Regions from separate parts of the Homo sapiens genome. Here all the other regions are linked to region 1. The links are contacts of gene promoters, found by promoter capture Hi-C in blood cells and fetal thymus (Javierre and others, 2016). All regions are on one chromosome and are shown on one strand. The core of a region is centred on a gene start or on the middle of the fragment in contact, and the rest is flanking DNA. Distances in the headings are between cores, read along the strand shown.

Region 1 (2,787 bases), core at 169-2,668:
ATTAGAACCTTAGGAGTCTACTAGATTTCTTCATCTCTATTTGTTGTTATTAGTAGCCAAACTGTGCAAAAAACACGGTCTTGAGAAATGACAGCACAGTATCTTAGAGGGAAAGGAAATGTAGGATGCCAGTGTGGGGACAAATTTCTGATTGCCAGTGATTGTTGTGAGCATAACAATAATTTCATGAACATTAAAGCCTCTATTGAGGGCAGCTGCAGTTGTAAAGGAAAAAAAATGGTCCTGAACATTTAAAACTACACTGGTGTACATCATAATCAAACAAAGTAAACAGAAAAAAATTTAAACTTTGCTAAAAAAAAAAAGCAGAAGCACTTGATCTTTAGGAAGGCACGCAGTTGCTTATTATGAATCATTTCTAGAGTCCGATGCATTTTCAAAGCCGGTTACAGTCATTACGAAGCACACCCTTGTGAGGTAAGTGTATCATCACCTTTGGTTCATAAATAAAAAAGCTGAGACGCCGAGCGATTAAGTCACTCGCCTAAGGAGAATGAGTCAACGTCAAGAGTCATAGTTGACCCGGCCTAAAGACTCCAGACCATCAGTCCAGGGCTTAGTCAGCGGGGCCCGGAGTGGCTTCCCTGGCTGGCATCTGGACTTAGGCTATTTCCGTGCACGTAAAAGCGGAATATTGGAACGGTTGCACAGAACTTCCAAATAATTTTTACCGCCACGCAAGATTTAGCCCTGAGGTCTTAATCTCAGGATTTGGGACAGTAAAAGCTGTCGTCCCTCCCCCTCGTCCAGCCGGTGGCAAGCGGGTACTGCGGGCGGTTCCGTCCGTCCCCTTTCGCAGAAATGGCAACGAATGACCACCAGCATTAGCTGAGCCAGGGGACGTGGGAGGGTTGATTGCCTAAACGACTCTGCATCGCCGCCTCTTTTTGAAACTAAGAGAAAATGGTGGGAGATCAAAAGAAAACTAAATAAACACACAGGCAACTTGTCCTGGGACCTCAACTAAGCAAATGAAGCCTTATTGTGTGTGCTGAGCCTGCAGTTCCCAACCTTCCGGGGAAGATGGGAGGACAGGGCGACAAAGGGCACAGTAGGCTTGCCTGGCAGTAAGTGTGACCGCAGCTATCCAGGCGGAAGAGCAGAGGACTGAAACCACCCTCCAGCAAGCGAGTGTCCGCCGCGTTGAGAACCGCGCACCCTACCCATCGGCCACGTGACCAGTCCTTTTTAAAAAAAATTTCTTTACCTTAAAAAAAAAAAAAAAAAAAAGGTGGGGGAGAGACTCCACTTCCCAGAAGCCTCTCGTTACTCACGCAGCCGCAGTCTTGCGCAGGTGCCGCCAGGGCCAAACGGACATATCCGTCACGTGGCCAGAAGCTGGCCAATCCGGTTTGAATCTCATTTTTTTCCTCTTACCCCCCCTTCTGGAGCGGTTGTGCGATCAGATCGATCTAAGATGGCGACTGTCGAACCGGTGAGTATTGCCTTTGGCCCCCACCCCCACGGGTCCCCGCGCTCCGTCTTCCTTCTGACTGGGGGACTCCGCGGGACGGCGTTCCCGGCGCGCACTGTACCCCTTGCCGCCCCTTCCCCTTCATGTTGGACCTGACCTCCCGCGGACAAGTGGGGACGTCCCGGAGGATGGCCGAGGCGGCGTGTAGCGCACACTTTCTGGTGGGGGCCCGAGAACTGGGGGAGCGGTGTGGGGGAGGGGCGGCGTGGCGCCTCCTGCGGAACCGCGAGGTGTCTACAGGGTGGAGGGTAGCTGGGGTTCTGGGCTGGGTATGCGAGGATGGTGTCTTCATGATAGGAAGGCGCAGGGCCGGCTCCCAGCGAGTACTGGGATCCGCAGGCAGGGTGGGCGGCGAGCCGGCCTGGAGTGAGATGGAGGAGGGAGCCCTGGAGCAGCCTTTCCCTCCCTGCAGAACCCCAGCTCCGGGGCTCGGGTGCGGGGCGCGCGCACGTCTTCCTTAGACCGGTGGACTGGGGAGCTGGTGGGCGAGTGTTGCCGGAGGGTGGGTTAGGCGGGAGTGGTGCCGCGGCACGCGCGGAGGAGCTTCGACCTCGCTTAGGGGAGTTGAGAGGGGCGAGCGTCTGTTAATCCAGCGCGCCGGAGAGTTGCCGGTGTTTGCGCCAGGGGAAGCGAGAAAGGTCTGGGGTGGGAAGGAACACTCGTGTGTCACGGTGAAGCTCTCCAAGTAGAATGAGGGATGGTGGTGGTGAGAAGGGGTATCACATTGTCCTCGCCCCTCCATGCTTGGGACTGGGCTGTCATGGAGGAGGGAAGGGGGAGGAGCGAGGCCTACAGATCGCTGTAGCCGGTCGGCTTGCCGGCCGGACCTGCTGCATTTCACACGCGCCCGTCTTCCATTCATTCATCCTTTCCGCGTAGTGCGCACGCCTCAGAGAATGCGAATGGGTCTCAATCCCTCTGTTCTTCCGAGTCTTTATCTCCTGGAAGATTTCTGAGACGCAGTTTATTGGAAATAGAAACTTTTAAATTTACTTTTCCATTTGACTTTTTTTTTCTCTTTATCTATGCTACAGACTTTCATTTCAATTTAGGCACCATTTTAAACTTAACTGAAGCAAGCTGGTCCCAGGGTAGGTTTGTAGTTAATCTTTAAGCAGAGGGTATATTTTTCATAATTTGGGTTTGCCAGGACTGGCTCACTGAAACTTCTGGGCCCTGTTGCCTTTTTAGAAACGACACAGCTAAGTGAAGATATCTTGTGTGCATAATGGGGTTTATTAGCAATCAGAAAACCTTTCACACTCTGGAACCAGCTCTAGACCTTGGTTGCC
Region 2 (2,787 bases), core at 111-2,610, 4.7 Mb after region 1:
ATTCCTCTAATAGTTAACTGTTCAATGAACATAGATTCGAGTGGAAATCTTAATTTTTGGCTTATCCTCAAATACTTTTGTCTCTGACAATCTGCTGATGAGGTTAAAAATGTTCATTCACCATGAAGAATACCAATTACTCATTTGCATTCTGAGGACATCCAGGAAGTCAGGTGGATGCAAGAACTTGATGTGATCTGATCTTCCCTTGTGTACAGAGGTTGTCTTTAGGCACCTTGCTCAATGTCTAGCTCACAGTAGATGATCAATATTTTGAGGGAATACTGGAATGAATGAAAATGTCTGCCCAAATAGCCTCAAAGTTTATCATAGGACTGAATCACTGACATCGCTCTTCCAATAGCAACCGTTCTGACCTATGGATGCCCTAAATTCTAATTTCAACTTCCACCATGGGGCCATATTCGAAGAACTCATATAAAAGTGAGGCGACAATGGATGGATGCTCAGTTGAGGGTACATGGTGCTTATGGCAGTCCCAAAGCTGTATTTAAAAGGGCACACCGCAGGACAATGCATCAATATATATGACATCAAGAATAAAAATGAGAATCCCTTCTGCCTTTCATCTTTTAAAAACTGTCCTTGATGTTACATCAATTTTAACATTGTAACTCACCTGTTTTTTCAGTTATATCTGAATCAGGAGTGTTTGCCCTGCTAACTTCCCCTTCAGCATTCTCCTCTTCAGCACTAAGAGAAATTGGTGAAGAAGGGCCAGGCTGGGAAGGTTGAGGGGTTGCTTCGGGCGCTTCCTCAATCTTATTCCTTTTCTCAAAGCGAAAACGGTCCAGGTTGAAAAGATTCATATTGGTAGAAAGCACCACCTTGCAGGGATGGGGGCTTTAAATGAACTATCTGCAGGGGAAAAATAAAGAGAGGAAAAAAGGCCATGAAAACAATATACGATACAATGCCACAGCAGTTTATTCCCAAGGCAATAAAGGGCCCGCAAACATGCCAGTGGCTCAGGACTGTTATGGCTGCGCTTCATTGTTAGGCCGCAACAATTAGAAGGTGGACGGGGGTATCTTTTAAAATTTTCCATTGCTTTTCACTCCCCTTCGTCCGCCTCCCCCGCCCGCCCCTCCTTACTGAAACCACGAGCTGACCCTCATGCAACCTCCTCTTACCCAAGCACGCGCAGGCACGTTCCCCAGTATAACCCCCTAGCGGGCCTCGCGCCCGCCCACAAAGAGAAGCTCCCTGTGCTACCGTGCCCCCTGCCTCGAGAAAGGACCTGCCAGGGCCCGCGCCTCGACACTGCGGGGACACAAAGGGGCCAAAGAAGGGGAGCGGCGGAGGCCGTGCTGGCGGGCATCCGCCCGGAAGTTGACGCGGCGCGATCCCAGCTGAGAGGAAGCTGATAGGATTAAGAACACACAGGAAGGTTCAGAGGTGGAGTGCATGCTAAGGCATCTTTTTAACGTTCAATCGCTCGCTTGTTCTTTCTTCCCTCAGTACTTACGATCTTGTAGCCTCAGTGCTATGTAACAAAGGTTGAAAATAAAAAAAAAATTTCCTAGCGTGGGGCGACGGTAGCCGTGCCGGGACCTTCCAAAACACCACGGAGAAACCTTAAGAGCGCGTAATGATGACGCAACACGCAGCCTAGGCTTTTTCTTCCCAAACAACGCGCGAGCCGACAATGTCGAGGCGCGCGCTGTTGTCATGGTAATTCGTACCCGTCTCCGCCGGCTTGTAAGGGCCAGATTGTTCTGTACCTTTGTCCTGTTAAATTATCTAGAGAGTTATTAAATAGAACAATAGTAAATAGCATAATGACAAAAAATAACAATATATAATACAATTAGTATATATTGTATGTATTATAATCTGTAGTGTTTCACCTATAATATAATGTAGATAGCATAATAGTAATAATACTGTGCTAAGCTTTTTCAGTGTATAATCCCAATCCTTACAAGAAGCCTATGTTTACAAAGCAAAGAAACTGAGACCTGCAAATGTATAGGTAATTAGTGACGGATAAGAACCCCGGGATGCTGAGCTTCAAAGCATTTAAAGTAATTCCTCACTTTCGGCTTGATTGTTCTTAGAATGGAATTTGATTAATTAATTAATTTTTTAAAAATATTTTAATTTTTAATGTTTGCGGGTACATAGTAGGTGTACATATTTATAGGGTACATGAGATATTTTGATACAGGCATGCAATGTGTAATAATCATATCAGGGTAAGTGGGGTATCCATAACAAGCATTTATCCTTTGTGTTTCAAACAATCCAGTTATTTTAGTCATTTAAAAATGTACAATAAGCTGGGAGTGGTGGCTCACGCCTGTAATCCCAGCACTTTGGGGGGCTGAGGCAGGTGAATCACAAGGTCAGGAGTTTGAGACCAGCCTAGCCAACATGGTGAAACTCCGTCTCTGCTAAATATACAAAAAATTAGCCGGGCGTAGTGGCGGGCGCCTGTAATCTCAGCTAATCGGGAGGCTGAGGCAGGAGAATAGCTTGAACCTGGGATGCGGAGGTTGCAGTTAGCCGAGATCACTCCACTGCACTCCACCCTGGGCAACAAAGCAAGACTCTTGTCTCAAAAAAAAAAGTACAATAAATTGTTGTTGACTGTAGTCATGCTATTGTGCTATCAAATACTAGATCTTATTCATTCAAACTGTATTTTCGTACCCATTAACCATGCTCACCGACCACCGGGGTCCTCCCCCGCCCCACACTACCCTTCCCAGCCTCTGGTAGCCATCGTTCTACCGTTTCTCATACGTTCAATTGTTTTAATTT
Region 3 (2,787 bases), core at 73-2,572, 4.5 Mb after region 1:
ATTTCCTCTTCAAGGGTAAGTAGCTTTTGGCCATCTTACTGTTGGCTATCACCTCCACCAGAAAGTGAGCTGAGGAAATAATTCCGAAACAATCATTTTATTCAATTTTGATCAACAGTTTTTAACAAACAGCTTTTGGAACTGAAAGAGATTATTAAAATCCCATAGCACAACCTTTGAAAATTATATATGAAAGAACGAAGATTCAGAGAATTCCCCAAATTAGGGACAGTTCAAAAATGTACAGTCTGTTCCTAGTTAAATGCTTTTTCCATTTTATTATTGATAACATGGGGGAAAACGAAAAGAAGTTAAATTGAAGTCAGTTATCCTTGCTAAATCTACTCCCCTCATCCTTTATTATAGATAATCAAATTTGCCAAGATCAAATCCCAGGAGCAATGATAATAAGTAGAGTACAGGTCAACAGAGAATTAAACAACTCAGCCCGAGGACTAAGCACTGAATGAACATCTATAATAAAATTTGTAAAGTTTACTTACACTAGAGATTGTCAGAGGCATGTTGAAATCCTTACCGCCCTGCAGCCGGAAACCCCAAGGAGCTGGGCCAACCAGTGACACACTGTAGTTGCTCATGGTTCTAATGGCTCAAAGTCCAATGACAGAAAATGAAATATGCTGTGAAAGAAAATCAGATGATTAGCAAAAATGTTTACTTGAAACCCTAGAACATAAATTATGTTTAGTATTTTGTTTGAGGGGGGTGAGAGGATATAGAAGATAAGTCTTAATTAAGTTCTTCATTAATTTCAGTTTAAGAAAAGCAATCTGTGAGCTAATATAAATTTTCTACACTCATGGCAATTTCCATGGTCTAAAAATTCCATATCAGAATACATTTCTAGACACTTAGTATGTTTCACAACTTGCTTCAATCCAATTTTGTGGCTTCTTGCATGCAAAGTTTAACTCAAAGTACTTTACAATACTTCACTAATGTAGCAAGATTTTATTTCAGGTTGAATTCAGAATAATTTTCTCCTTCCCTCCACTTCATGTATTCTTTTGTCTGCAATTGACAAGAGTCTTTCAACTGCACTTACTTAAATTCTAAGTTACTCTAACATGTGAAAGAGACTGCAAATCAGTAGGCTCCCATTCATGCTTTCCAAATACTAAATTCTTTACAATGAGAAGCTGTTTTTCAATGCACAAAACTATTCTCTCCAATCATGAACTACAACTTGTATTTCCTCCTATGGGGACATGGTATTTTCCACACTTAAAGTGATATCTACTTTTCCTTCAGATAGTCAACGATAGGCAATACTCTAGTACAGTGATGTTAGTCACAACCTGCTTTTTGTTTTATACACACACCTCACCAGGCAGAGAGTAAGCATTTGCCACTCAGTGAATAAGATTATGACTAAATACAGCAAAAGTGCTGGGTTAATGCATTCAAATGGAATTGGCAGTTTAGAAAAGAACCAGTGCTTCGGTGCTTTCTTTTGTCTGTTCTGCTGTTAAGTGTGCGTGTGATGACTCTCCTAGTAGTACTTTCATATAATTTTTAAAAAGCAAAAAAAAAAAAAAAAACTTCGAGTTTCCTATTGGTTGTTATAACGGCAGGAGACAGAGGAATGAAGTTTTCTTTTGTTTTAATGGAATACTAAGAAACAATAATTCTCTCTCTTTAAAAAATATTAAAAACATAACAGATATGTAATTTTATATTAAAAACATACTTCCTTGGAAAATGTAAGCTATTCAACCAAATCACCACCTAATATTACCTGTCTTAAAATATGTTTTAACCCATTCAAAATTTCTAGCCCATCACCCCAAATTCATAGTTGCAGATATAGATATTTGAGCCATAGGTATATTTAAAGCAAACATTCCTTCTTCTCATAAAGGGAAAATGGGGCAAAACATTCAAATAAGCCTGGTTTTTAAAGAAAAATTATATCAGGGAAAATAAAAATTACAGAAAATTGTATCAGAAACCGAAACAGCTTTTCTACTGGCGTGGTAGTATACTGAACTACAAGGCAATAACACATTACTTCAGTAATGAAGTAATAGGCACAGAGCACTAAAAAAGATCCAAAGGCCAAGCCGGAAGTCAAACTGTATATATAGGTGAAAAACTACTAGTGGGAAGCTAATAACGAGCCACACATAATTCAATTGCTTTCCCGCTATAAAAGGAGGAGATTTTCAGAAAACTAATAGAAGGACTGTCCTGATATTGACACGATACAAATCAGAATCGTGTAAAGCCAACTGATATTTCACAGGCAGCCTGCCCTCCTTTATTAATCTTTAACTTGTGTCTGGGGAATAATATGAAAGTTGGGCTCAACTTCCTCTGGCCCCATTCTTCCCTACAAGAAAATGTATTTCATTTAGATTATCAACCCATGTACTTGCAACTTCCCTTTACTTGGGGATTCCCTTCCTAACTTCTCTCATTTGTTATTAAAATTCCTAGCACTGGCAAGGTCACAGCCACACTACAAAACCAGTGTCATTTCATTTCTAGTCACTGTCCGTTCATTTCTAGATGCTTCTTCTGCTAGCTTCATTTGGAATTCATCTGCCTTAAAACAGTCTCTGCCCCAAGCAATGGCAATATTTTTATTGGCCTTTCCAAGACTCCTCCATCTGGTTATTAGTGCCCAAGCCCTTCCTCAAATACCAAGCAGGCAGGAAATAGCAGCATACTCTTTCAAACACGTCGAAAAGGTTGGAATTTCTGTAGAGTTATGGATTTTCTTTTAGGGAAAGTCTAAACAATGTCTTTGCTCTAGTACTAGGG
Region 4 (2,787 bases), core at 146-2,645, 4.3 Mb before region 1:
ACATACATTTTACCTCTTTAAGCACATGAGCATTTAGCATTAGGTTTTCACAATTGGATGCTTCCTGGTGTTTTTATATAATTTTTTTTCTTCTAGTTTCCTGATAGGGAATTTCTCTTACGTGTATCTTACATGGAAATATACAATGAAACCATTACAGATTTACTCTGTGGCACTCAAAAAATGAAACCTTTAATTATTCGAGAAGATGTCAATGTGAGTAGCAGACTTAAGGGAGCTTTAAAATTGACTGACTTATTGAGATTATTGTTCTTGAATGTTTACCTTTAATTTCTATAGTTTTTAAAGTGTCTCCTATTTCTATAGTATGTGAGGGTTTTTTTGAAGTATTTATATTCATCTTTTAAACAATATGAATAGTTTTAAAATACTGACAGCTCTAATATTTTGGTTTAAGTGTAAAAATAGCAAGTTGGAAGTATCAGGTTAGAATTTGTTGTGCTTTGGTATGTGAAATAAATTGTGGGTATTCATAGAATTATTTGTTACATTCCTACAGAATTATGGTTCCATTTGCCACTTTTAACTTTCACAAATGAATTCTATAATAGTTTGCACCTTCTTTTGAAAAGCAAACTTGTGACTTCTATTTCTCTAATCTTTCCATAATTAAACTTGTTTCAGAGGAATGTGTATGTTGCTGATCTCACAGAAGAAGTTGTATATACATCAGAAATGGCTTTGAAATGGATTACAAAGGGAGAAAGTAAGACTTTATGCTGTATTTCTTTAGAACACTTGTAAAAACTATCTTTTCAATCAAGCACGTTTGGACCTCAAATCATACTTTTTTAAGTTAAAATAAAAATTATTGTGTTTCTATGGATTTTATTATATATGCAGCTGAAATATAACTCATTTTTACAGAGAGCAGGCATTATGGAGAAACAAAAATGAATCAAAGAAGCAGTCGTTCTCATACCATCTTTAGGATGGTAGGTAATTCTATCTATCTGTTAGATCTTTCCAAGTAAGAATGCACTAATTTTTCTACAGCTTGCCTTTTCTATCTAGATTTTGGAAAGCAGAGAGAAGGGTGAACCTTCTAATTGTGAAGGATCTGTTAAGGTATCCCATTTGGTGAGTATTAATGAACCATAATAATGTACTGTATGGGCCAAAACAAAATTTAATTTAGTTGCTGGATGTTTGGTTTAATAAGAACTGTTAACTAAACTAAATGTGGGAGGAAATCTACAAATTGTCTGCTTAGTCTTGTCAGTATCATCAAATTCCTAGCTAAAATGTCGTAGGAAAAATTCAGAGGATCTTTCTTCCTGTTATGTCATGGTTGCCATCTCCTAAAATTTAAATGTCAGGGCTATAGGGTTATAGGAATTGATGTTTTTTCTAACCACTAATGCAGTAGAATTTTTTTCTATACACATTTAACACTTTAGATCATCTTAGAATTTGAGGGTCTTTTTGTAAAATCTCAGCCAATGTAATTTAGACTTATGTGATCAACAAAAATCTAGGTTGGATGGTTAAAAAGTAATCACATTACTTTAGGTTTTACTTAAGTACAACAATAAAATATATTTTGTATTGTAAACGTAGTACTTTAGACTGTAAATCCATTGAGGAGTGATACTGCATTCATCCTGGTAGCCCCAACACATTATACCTATTTTATGTCTAATATAGATTTGCTGAATAAGCGAATATATGCATTATGCAAACATTCCTATATTCCACATTAGTAAACCTTCACTTCCTTCTTTCCACACTAAATTATTGCTGTTTCTTTCTTGCTCCTTTTCTATCTTTTACCATATTGCTTTATTCTGCATTTTTAGGGCCTAAATTCTTTAGCTTGATGTGGGATATGATTTAAGATTATTTGATTAGAAAACTTCAGGGAAAAAAGCAATCTATAATATGTTTATTCATTTTCAGATTTTATAAAATTAGATTATTAATTACTTAATATTCAATCCTAATTTCACCTTAGCTATTTTGCTATAAAATTGTATAACTTATTTTAGTAGACTTTAATCTTGTTTTAATTTAACAATAAAAAACCAAACCCTAACCTCTTTAGTTTTCTCATCCAAGACTGTGATATTTCATATAATTTTAACTTTTAATAATTTAGCTTTAATACTCTTGGCATATTCAGTGATCTACTTGATGATTTTCCTCATGTTACGTGATGCTCTGTCATTTGTGTTCCATCTGTTCCAACCCTCCAGCCTACCCACTTACTCTAAGAATCTTCTTGGAAAGAAGTCTCTAAAGAGTCATCTCTGTCTCTTTAGAGGTGGCTCTTTTCTGATTATCTCCTGGCCTTGGTGGGATGATAATATCCAGTTTCTCTTAGCTGTACTCCTCTGTTTTCTACCCTGGCTTCTTTTTCCCTACCCTCCTAAAAAAATAATTAAAAAAAAAAAAACTTGGAGGTATTCTGTGACGTTTCTTACTCAAGTTCTTGCTCTCAAATGTTCTGTCATCATTTCCATGTTGATGACTGCCAAATATTTTACCTATAGTCTCTGAATTCTAATTCATGTCTTCCTAAAGATGGTTATAATTGTGTCCCATCATTATCTCAAACTTTAATATGTCTAAAACGAAACTATTTTCTTCCTACCATAGTGAATATTCCTTATTTCCAGTAAAACCAGCATTATCCTAGCTGCCTAAGCTGGAAACCTAAGTCAATTTTGACTCATCTTTTTCTGCCTTTCTCTTTGTCCACTTGTCCCATTTCTTACTGATCCTACCTTTAAACATTTCCATGGGTGCTACACTCATTTACTTTCT
Region 5 (2,787 bases), core at 98-2,597, 4.2 Mb before region 1:
TTATTAACAAAATTGTAAATGTTTTTAATACCTTACACATTCAATAAATGTTTAGTAGTTCTGAATCACCGCTCTTCTATATAATGTTAATGGTTTCTTGGTGAGGTAGTCTCTCTTGTTGACTCAGTATTTTGCTATGAAAATATACACAAGTTTTCTGGATCTGGATTTAAATTCTTAAAGGATAGCAGAGGCTATGTCCTCTTAACTTTCCAGTTCTAATATTCCTTTTACTGTAATAACCACAGAAGTTCTTTCTCACATTTCTGGTAACCTACCTATCCCAATCCCTATACAAACTCTCTAAATTGGTTGGTTTATTATAGACTTTGTTTTTCATTGCCCCTCACTCCCAGCCTGGAGGAACCTATAGATCATTTATTCTACCTCTTCATTGTAGACATAAGGAAACAGTACCAGAGTTTTTATCAAAGTAAAGTTTTCTAAACCTGGAGTCCCCACAGATAGATAAAGCATATATGGATGGACTTCTTGTAATCTGTAAAATTTTTGAAATTTTTTATGAACTTTTTTGTGTGGATTTATTTGGGGGGAGGGGATACTGGGGTTTATACTTTGTTTTATCATATTCTTAGAGGGGCCCGTGATCCTGTAAAAATCTAAGAACTATGGTTTTAGAGGATATTTGATATTACTTTTATACCATATGACTTTGAAAAACCACTTAAAACAAGTTGCATTAGGTTATAGAACAGAGGTAAAGTGATTTCAAGTCATTCTCGGCTCTTTGGTAAGATTCATTCAAAGGGAGAGATTATTGATTGCATCATATCTAGTATTTCAAAGTCTGTGGATTGGATATTTCTCCGTATCTTAACATACCACCAAAGGAATTAACAAAGACTAAGGGGAAACTATCCCTTCCTAAAATCTTTTCCCCCAGACCTGTACCTTGAGAGTCTGTCTTCTGCTTTCCACCCTTATCCAAACAAAACACTAACATGCCTGCAGGTTTGATTCTTTATGTCTGCTTCTCCACTGAACAAAAGTAACCCAAAGTAGTGGTTGTTTACCTGATTGATAAAACTACATTAAAGCCATTAAAAATCTAGTTGTCAGGTAGCCAGCCTAGTAGAATATTGCTTAACTTTTGAATTTGGGTGTCCATTTTATTCCTCAAATTTGGGAAGTTTGTGGCCATTATTTCTTCAAATAAGCTCTGTCCCTTTTGCTGCCACCATTATCCCACACCCTTAATATCCCCACACATTTTTCTCAGATTTCTGCTTATATAAGTTAGAAAACTCAAGTGGTTCTTTTGATTGTGATGCAGCTCCTCATGGGCCACACTTTGTACCTCACATTAGGGATCTGCTGGGACTTGAGTCTAGTTATAGGTCTAGGAGCATAGAGGGGTGGTGGGGGTAGGTCCTGAGGAGAATCAGCATTGTCTTGCTTGGCAGCTGCCTCAGGGGAGGCCATTATTATTTCCTCAGGCAATGCAGGGTTAACCCTTCAGACAAAGGTGGAAAGGCCATTACCAACCCCAATGAGGTTGGAGAGGCCACTACAGCTGGTAAAAAAAAAAACTCATCAGAATGTAGGAACTGGCCAGGCATGGTGGCTCACACCTGTAATCCCAGCACTTTGGGAGGCTGAGGTGTGGGACTCTTGAGCCTAGCAGTTCGTGACCAGCCTGGGCAACATAGTGAAACCCCGTCTCTACAAAAAATACAAAAATTAGCCTGGCATGGTGGCTTATGGCCATAGTCTCAGCTACTCGGGGGTGCTGAGGTGGGAGGATCACTTGAGCCCTGGAAGTCAACGTTGTAGTGAGCCGAGATCATGCCATTGCACTCCAACCTGGCCAACAGGGTGAAACTGAAAAAAAAAAAAAAAAAAAAAAACTCAATGTTCCTGGCTTCAGGGTCTTCCCACACGTCCCCATCCCAACTTATAGAATCTCACTCTCCCAGTCACTGTGGCTTATTTTACCAGTAGACACACTGAGGCCTTTTGTAATTGCACCAATCAAATGATGAAGACTGGTGTTTGATTTTCAGCAATTTTAGCCTCATGTCTACAGGAGAGAAGATCCTCTTTCAGGGCACGCCTATAAGCTCTTAGGTTACTTATGTGGAGCTTGAGCCATGAATTTGAATCCCTGAAGTCATCCTTTTTTTTTTTAAATAATTTTGCCCAACAATATTAGAAGCAACCAACCAACATTGGTATATTTCTTAGTTTTCCATAAATATTTGAAAGTATTATAGGGCCGGGCACAGTGGCTCACACCTGTAATCCCAGCACTTAGGGAGGCTGAGGCAGGCGGATCACAAGGTCAAGAGTTTGAGACCAGCGTGGCCAACATGGTGAAACCCCGTCTCTACTAGAATACAAAAATTAGCCAGGCATGGTGGTGTGTGCCTGTAATCCCAGCTATTCGAGAGGCTGAGGCAGAAGAATCGCTTGAACCCAGGAGGCAGAGGTTGCAGTGAGCCGAGATCATGCCACTGCACTCCAGCCTGGGCGACAGAGCAAGACTCTGTCTCGGAAAAAAAAAAAAAAGTATTATATATAGAGTCACTTAAGTTCCTCACCTCTAAGAAGTGGTTGATTAGGAGTATCCAATGCAGACATTTTGCATACCTCTATGAACAGTTCATTTCTTGGACAATCAGTGCTCTCTGTACTATTAAAAGGAGAGCCAGGCTGGGCGCAGTGACTCATCCCTGTAATCTCAACACTTTGGGAAACTGAGGCAGGAGGAGCACTTGAGACCAGGAGTTTGAGACCAGCCTAGGCTACATACTGAGACCTCATCTC
Region 6 (2,787 bases), core at 79-2,578, 3.9 Mb before region 1:
TGGAGTCCCATTATATCGCCCAGGCTGGATAGTTGTTTTTATTAATATCTCTAAAAGATTTGAAGGGTAAGAGGAGAAAATTTCACTCCCTTGAAATAACTTTCTTGCTATGACTTTGTTTCATATTTTGGCTGAAGTCAAAATGTCCGAAGTTGTGCACTTGCTGATTGGATAATGTGTGTGATATCTTAATAATATGCCTCATTATTTACAGTTCTACACTTAACAACATATAATAACGAACTGCTAATGGTCCAGTATTTCATTGTGTATGACAGTGTAACAGCCAGTTATAATAAATACTTTCCATTTTTCCCCTTGGTATTTTTATTTTACAGTGAGAAAAGGAAGGAATTTTTTAAAGCAATCTTTCATTCTCTGGACTGTATAAATTTAGTGTTTGTGATTGTCCTTCACTAAAAAAGAATATCAGTAATAGAGTTGACCAAAATCTAGATTAAATAATTTTCTATCATTATAATTGTTCAAAATTGTTAAAGTAAAACTTACAATGGAAATTCTACAAACACGTTTAGATACAGGTTCATGTTTTTGAGCTAGGGCAGTATAGAAGATGGTGTATACAAAGTGATGTTTAAAAGGTTGATGGGATTTCCTTTAGAGAGAGTTTGGAGGTAAACCCTGGAGCTTTTTTATCCTGAAGATGATGGAACTTGAATATCCTTGTCCTCTGGACTATTCTGTTAACTGTTATCTTTAATCTCTGTGGATCTAATGTAGAAGCACCCTTGGGTACAACTAGATACCCTAGTTGAGGTAGGGGTAGGTTGGAAGTGGGGTACATTAGGAAAAGAAAATCTGGAAAAGGCCATTACCTATTCGTTTCTTCTCTTAGAGGATCTGTCATCTTGACAAGGGCAAGACGTGCTGTGTTGAGTTTAATTTTTCCCCTTGGTATTTTAAAGTGAGAAAAGGAAAGAATTTTTTTAAAGCAACTTTACATTCTCTGGACTGTATAAATTTAATGTTTGTGATTGTTGTGCATTAAGAATAAGACCTCCAAGCAGTTTTTCTTTAAAGAATTAAAAAATACATACCTCAATTTAAAGATATAGTAAAATGCTCAAATGCCAAATGTACAGTTCCAGGTAACCACCACCCACATCAATATACAGAATGTTCAATAGAGGCGTTTTTAAAAAGCGACCCTTCCAACCACATCCACCACCATTACTACTATTCTGTATTGCTGTGCATGTTTTTGACCCTCACATATAAGTAATTTTACAGTATGTAATTTTTTATGGTTGGCTTACTTCCTCTTAGCAGTTTATGTGAATAGCTGGTTTGCTATTTTCAAGTAGAAAAAATGTAGTGAATGCAAGTCTATATGGATAAAACTTTTTTGGGAGGCCTTGAAATTCAGAGAAAAGGTGTGGATCATATATTAGGTATTCTGATGCATTACATGAGCTATGCGAATGTGTAATAGGAGATAATTCCTAACTCCACCAATTTAAAAATCCTTATTATCCACTTAAAAGGAATATTTTCTTAAATTCCCTTTACTTAAAATTTAAATCCTGTTTTCATTTATATTTGTATTTCATTTCCACAACCCTGCCTTCTTGGCTGCACATGAAACATGGTCTAAAGATAATATTGCTCTAAATAGATGTAATAGGCTTATCTGACCACCTTATGCGATAGTGTTTTTAGACTCCATCTTTAAAAGACATAAAGAAACTGTGGTCAGAAAACTCAAGATAAATATGTAAATACAGTTAAAGGAGTCATTATTTACTTTCAAGCACTTGAGCTTGGATCACTCATCTTCTGCCTGTCCTAGCTAGGCCCAAGACTTTTATTTCTTTCATGTTTTTTTCCCATTAGGTCATCCAGTGCCCCAAATTCAAATATGATCGTTAAGATATAGCCCAAATCTCTATTTCCAGCCCAGATTTCTTTAGGCTAATCTTAATTCTAGGAGTCTAATTCCAAATGCCTACTAGTCTGCTCTTGACATCTTTGCCCACTGTGCTATTGGTTTGTTCATCAGTTTCACTGGTACATGTTTTCTGGAAAATATTACCTTGTTGGTTACATTGGTTGCTTATCTTTTCCTGTTGCTTATCTTCTCCTAGTGTATGTCTTTTTTTTTTTTTTTTTTGGTTGAGACAGAGTCTCTGTTGCCCAGGCTGGAGTGCAATGGCGCGATCTCAGCTCACTACAACCTCTGCCTCCCAGGTTCAAGTGATCCTCCTGCCTCAGCCTTCCATGTAGCTGGGACTACAGGCGCCCGCCACCACTCCCGGCTAATTTTTGTATTTTTAGTAGAGACGAGGTTTCACCATATTTGCCAGGCTGGTCTTGAACTCCTGACCTCATGATCCACCTGCCTCTGCCTCCCAAAGTGCTGGGATTACAGGCGTGAGCCACCGTGCCTGGCCGTGTATGTCTGTTTTTATACTGAAATTTGGTTTGGGTGTAGTCAAATTTATTCATCTTTTTCTTTACAATTTGTGTTCTGGGAGTCTTGTTTAAGAAATCTTTTTCTACCCCTAAATCACAAAGGTATTCACCTGTGTTTTTGCTAAAAGTTTTAAACTTATATTCTTCATATTAGGGCTTTACTCAACCCAGTACTTACTTTTTGTGCATGAGAAAGGGATCTACTCTCATTTGTTATTATTTTACATACAGACAACTATGTTCTAGCACCATTTATTGAAGAGTTAAACTTGTTTTTGTGGTTTGTAATGTCACTTATCTCAAATCAGGTTTCCACACATCCTGGGTTGCTTATTCTCTTCCATTGCTGTATTT
Region 7 (2,787 bases), core at 153-2,652, 3.9 Mb before region 1:
TAATTCTTTTGGGGTAGTCTCTTCAAGCACTGAAAACTAACATGTGCCAGTTAACTGCTTAGGATGTCTTAGAGTGAACAAAATATATTTATTGTCCCCAACTAGTATATAGGCTGGGTAAACTGTCTTGCATGTGTTTCATATATGGTCCTCAAAGCTTGTTGATAGCCAGCTCACTTTCTGTGTAGGATAGTTGTGACTGAAGGATGCTGATAATAATAGGACCTCAGTATTTGTTTAATTTGAAAAAGGATGCATTACTGACACTGCATACTTTTCTTTCATCATGCTCATCTGCAGTGTTGATTCTAGTTTTTGTTATTTATACAAATAAAAAGTTGAATGCTCCATCACTGGGATGAACTACTGTGTCACTAGATTGCTCTGTCAAACTTTGCCCCTGAGTTTAGGTGACCCTTTTTATCCAAGACAGGCAATCTTTGAGGATTCTCCACAGCATGTTGCTATAATCTATCTATTAAAAAAGAAACTAGGTTCGTAACACTGAGATAAAAAAATGTTTCAGATTAAAATCTCAAACCTAGGTTGGTTTTTGCATTCTTTTTTTAAATAGCAGTTTTCTTGTATCTGTTAGCGTATAGAAGAGCTTACTGAATATTATATATTGTTGGGTGTGACATGAATTACATTTATATTCCAGAACATTTGGAGTTTTTAAAAAAATTTTGTGGGTACATAGTTGGTGTATATATTTATGGGTTGCATGAAATATTTTGATACAGGTATGCAATGCATAATCACATCAGGGTAAATGGGGTATATACCTCGAGCATTTATCCTTTGTGTTACAATCCAGTTATACTTGTTTACTTATTTTTAAATGTCAGATTGTTTAGAATTTAAAAAAAAAAATACAGCTGCATGGGGGTCTTAGACTTACTAAATCATTTTCCCTGGAAACACATAATTTTGAAAATTTTCTAGGTGATTCTGAAGCTCCTCTCTGATTAAGAACCACAGATACAAGGGAGTAAAGGTCCTAATCTGCATTAGACGTAGTATTCTAGTCCCAGGGAATAAATGAGGAAGATGGTCCTTATCTATGGTAATCTCTGCGTTCAGTGGTGAAAATAAGCATGTAAACACATGAATAGTTGTTTGTCACTTTGTAATTTACCTTTCAAGAATATTAGATCTAGTAGGGGAGGTATTTAAAATAAATTTTCTATACTGTATTTTTTGTACTAGTATTATTACAATGTGATTTGTCTTTTATTATAATGACTTAATTCCCCTTGCCAAAACCAGTATTTTGAAATTAATGAAATAAAACTCTCCATTCTTGGAAATGTTGTGGTCTTGAGCTTGCTACCATAGCAGTGTTATTTCATAATTAAAAATGAATGCATTCACCAAATATCTTACTGCCCAGTTTCTCTTATTAGATAAGATTTATTCAGAATTGTATCCTCAACCTTGTTATGTAGGGAAGGGAAAAGTTTAGGGAAGTATTTTTATACTTTGTTGAAACATCTGATTTTTATCTCCTAATGATACTTTCAACATAATCTATTGTAAAAGAGACCTTCAACTTTTCATAGCTGAATTTGTCGTATTTAAATGTTTGTCAATTGTGAATCATGATTTCTTGTACCTTTTTCAGTATGAAATACTTACATTAATCCTAACCTTGCTGTAATTTCATGGCTAATGTGTAATTGAATGTTTTCTACTACTGGGCAGCTGTTTGGCTGTTAATCTTTGTTTTTTTTGTTTGTTTGTTTGTTTTGTTTGTTTTAATGTCCATAAAACACCCTTCTTGCTTTCATGGAGCAGAGCTTCAAATCTAAATTTGGGTTTCTTTGCCCATTTTTAAATAATGCTTACAAAAGAATGGCTTTGAATAATGTTAAGTGACTTTACCTTCAGTGGTGATCGAAAGAAAATTAGTAATATTCAATCCATTCTTAGTACCTTGTGTAATGAACACGCATGCTTGTTTCACCTATAATTACGACTAAACAGGAAGTTAATACCTTGTCAGTGATGCAGTGAGATACTGTGCAGTGCCTACTGTTAAACCTTAAGATAAAAAAGGATTTCTCAGAAGAAATTTCAAATTAAAATGTGTTTTAAAGGGACTATTTGGAGTTTTGTGAAATTGTTCATATCTTTTTGCCAAGCATCCTTCTCTTGAAATAACCATGTTTCTGAAGTTTGTTGTTCCCTGCCTTGATATTCGCATCTACATATTTTATACAGACATTTCATAACATTAAAGTTAATAAAACTTTATAGTAAACCAGATCTTTATATGAACAGTTACAGTAGTTACTGTCTGCCTGATGGACAGCTAATTGCACTGCACTTCGACCTCTATTGTTGGTTCGCACCTTTGTATTTTTCTAGGTTGGTTGTAAAGTCTTCTTGAGGATGATTCTTAAAATTTCTTAAGGCACTTACTCCCTTTGTTTCCCACCTCATTTTATCATCTCTTCCAGTCCCCAAAGCAGTGTTTTGTGTTGCTCAGTATAGGTTTTTGAGGCAAGGGCTGTTTTTATAATGCTGATTCACAGTCATACAAATCTTGTCTTTTGAGTCATGTAAATCTTGTCTTTAGTTCTGAAAGAAATAGACTCTCAAATAGAATACAAGAAATTAACCTTTAGTAATGGCATAAGCTTTTAGTTTTCCGGAAAGTGCTGAGAGGAAATGTATCTATACTACTGCGTTCTGTCCTCTGTATGACCTTTGTGTGATGACGTGCAAAATAGATGGTAGAGATTGGGATAACAAATGATTTGTGGAACATCGTGGTGATAATTT

Evidence for each region. The method cuts DNA at HindIII sites, captures the fragments that hold promoters and counts their contacts. A CHiCAGO score of 5 or more calls a contact.
Region 2: a contact is called between the fragment with the promoter of SMARCAD1 here and the fragment with the promoter of EIF4E in region 1, in 9 of 17 cell types (total CD4 T cells, naive CD8 T cells, fetal thymus and 6 more). The highest score is 18.6, in total CD4 T cells.
Region 3: a contact is called between a fragment that was not itself captured here and the fragment with the promoter of EIF4E in region 1, in 2 of 17 cell types (naive CD8 T cells and M1 macrophages). The highest score is 5.5, in naive CD8 T cells.
Region 4: a contact is called between a fragment that was not itself captured here and the fragment with the promoter of EIF4E in region 1, in 1 of 17 cell types (neutrophils). The highest score is 7.8, in neutrophils.
Region 5: a fragment that was not itself captured here is called in contact with the fragment with the promoter of EIF4E in region 1 in 1 of 17 cell types (neutrophils); the score reaches 7.2 in neutrophils.
Region 6: a contact is called between a fragment that was not itself captured here and the fragment with the promoter of EIF4E in region 1, in 1 of 17 cell types (neutrophils). The highest score is 6.4, in neutrophils.
Region 7: a contact is called between a fragment that was not itself captured here and the fragment with the promoter of EIF4E in region 1, in 1 of 17 cell types (neutrophils). The highest score is 8.9, in neutrophils.

Annotation. Positions count from the first base shown.
Region 1 is chr4:98,927,764-98,930,550 of GRCh38, reverse strand. EIF4E (eukaryotic translation initiation factor 4E) reads left to right here and starts at 1,418. Exons shown (of 7, transcript NM_001968.5): 1 at 1,418-1,456. The coding sequence starts at 1,439. RefSeq lists an enhancer at 1-1,024. The HindIII fragment of the contact is 5,241 bases long and covers 1-2,787 here.
Region 2 is chr4:94,206,438-94,209,224 of GRCh38, reverse strand. It overlaps SMARCAD1 (SNF2 related chromatin remodeling ATPase with DExD box 1), which reads right to left and starts at 1,360. Exons shown (of 24, transcript NM_020159.5): 1 at 1,155-1,360; 2 at 641-879. The coding sequence starts at 830. SMARCAD1-DT (SMARCAD1 divergent transcript) reads left to right here and starts at 1,669. Exons shown (of 9, transcript NR_125922.1): 1 at 1,669-1,695. RefSeq lists enhancers at 780-1,283, 1,382-1,741. The HindIII fragment of the contact is 2,630 bases long and covers 1-1,919 here.
Region 3 is chr4:94,453,101-94,455,887 of GRCh38, reverse strand. PDLIM5 (PDZ and LIM domain 5) reads right to left here. Exons shown (of 13, transcript NM_006457.5): 2 at 504-641. The coding sequence starts at 599. Among named protein-coding and RNA genes, the nearest start is that of PDLIM5, 2.6 kb to the right of the region's middle. The HindIII fragment of the contact is 2,948 bases long and covers 1-2,787 here.
Region 4 is chr4:103,192,543-103,195,329 of GRCh38, reverse strand. CENPE (centromere protein E) reads left to right here. Exons shown (of 49, transcript NM_001813.3): 5 at 97-216; 6 at 646-727; 7 at 889-956; 8 at 1,036-1,101. Among named protein-coding and RNA genes, the nearest start is that of CENPE, 4.4 kb to the left of the region's middle. The HindIII fragment of the contact is 3,593 bases long and covers 1-2,787 here.
Region 5 is chr4:103,103,089-103,105,875 of GRCh38, reverse strand. It overlaps CENPE (centromere protein E), which reads left to right. Exons shown (of 49, transcript NM_001813.3): 49 at 1-65. Among named protein-coding and RNA genes, the nearest start is that of BDH2, 4.6 kb to the right of the region's middle. The HindIII fragment of the contact is 4,331 bases long and covers 1-2,787 here.
Region 6 is chr4:102,864,836-102,867,622 of GRCh38, reverse strand. It overlaps a transcript of UBE2D3 not described here. Among named protein-coding and RNA genes, the nearest start is that of CISD2, 2.8 kb to the left of the region's middle. The HindIII fragment of the contact is 3,078 bases long and covers 1-2,787 here.
Region 7 is chr4:102,819,694-102,822,480 of GRCh38, reverse strand. All of the region lies in intron 2 of UBE2D3 (ubiquitin conjugating enzyme E2 D3), which reads left to right. Among named protein-coding and RNA genes, the nearest start is that of UBE2D3, 6.5 kb to the left of the region's middle. The HindIII fragment of the contact is 2,485 bases long and covers 160-2,644 here.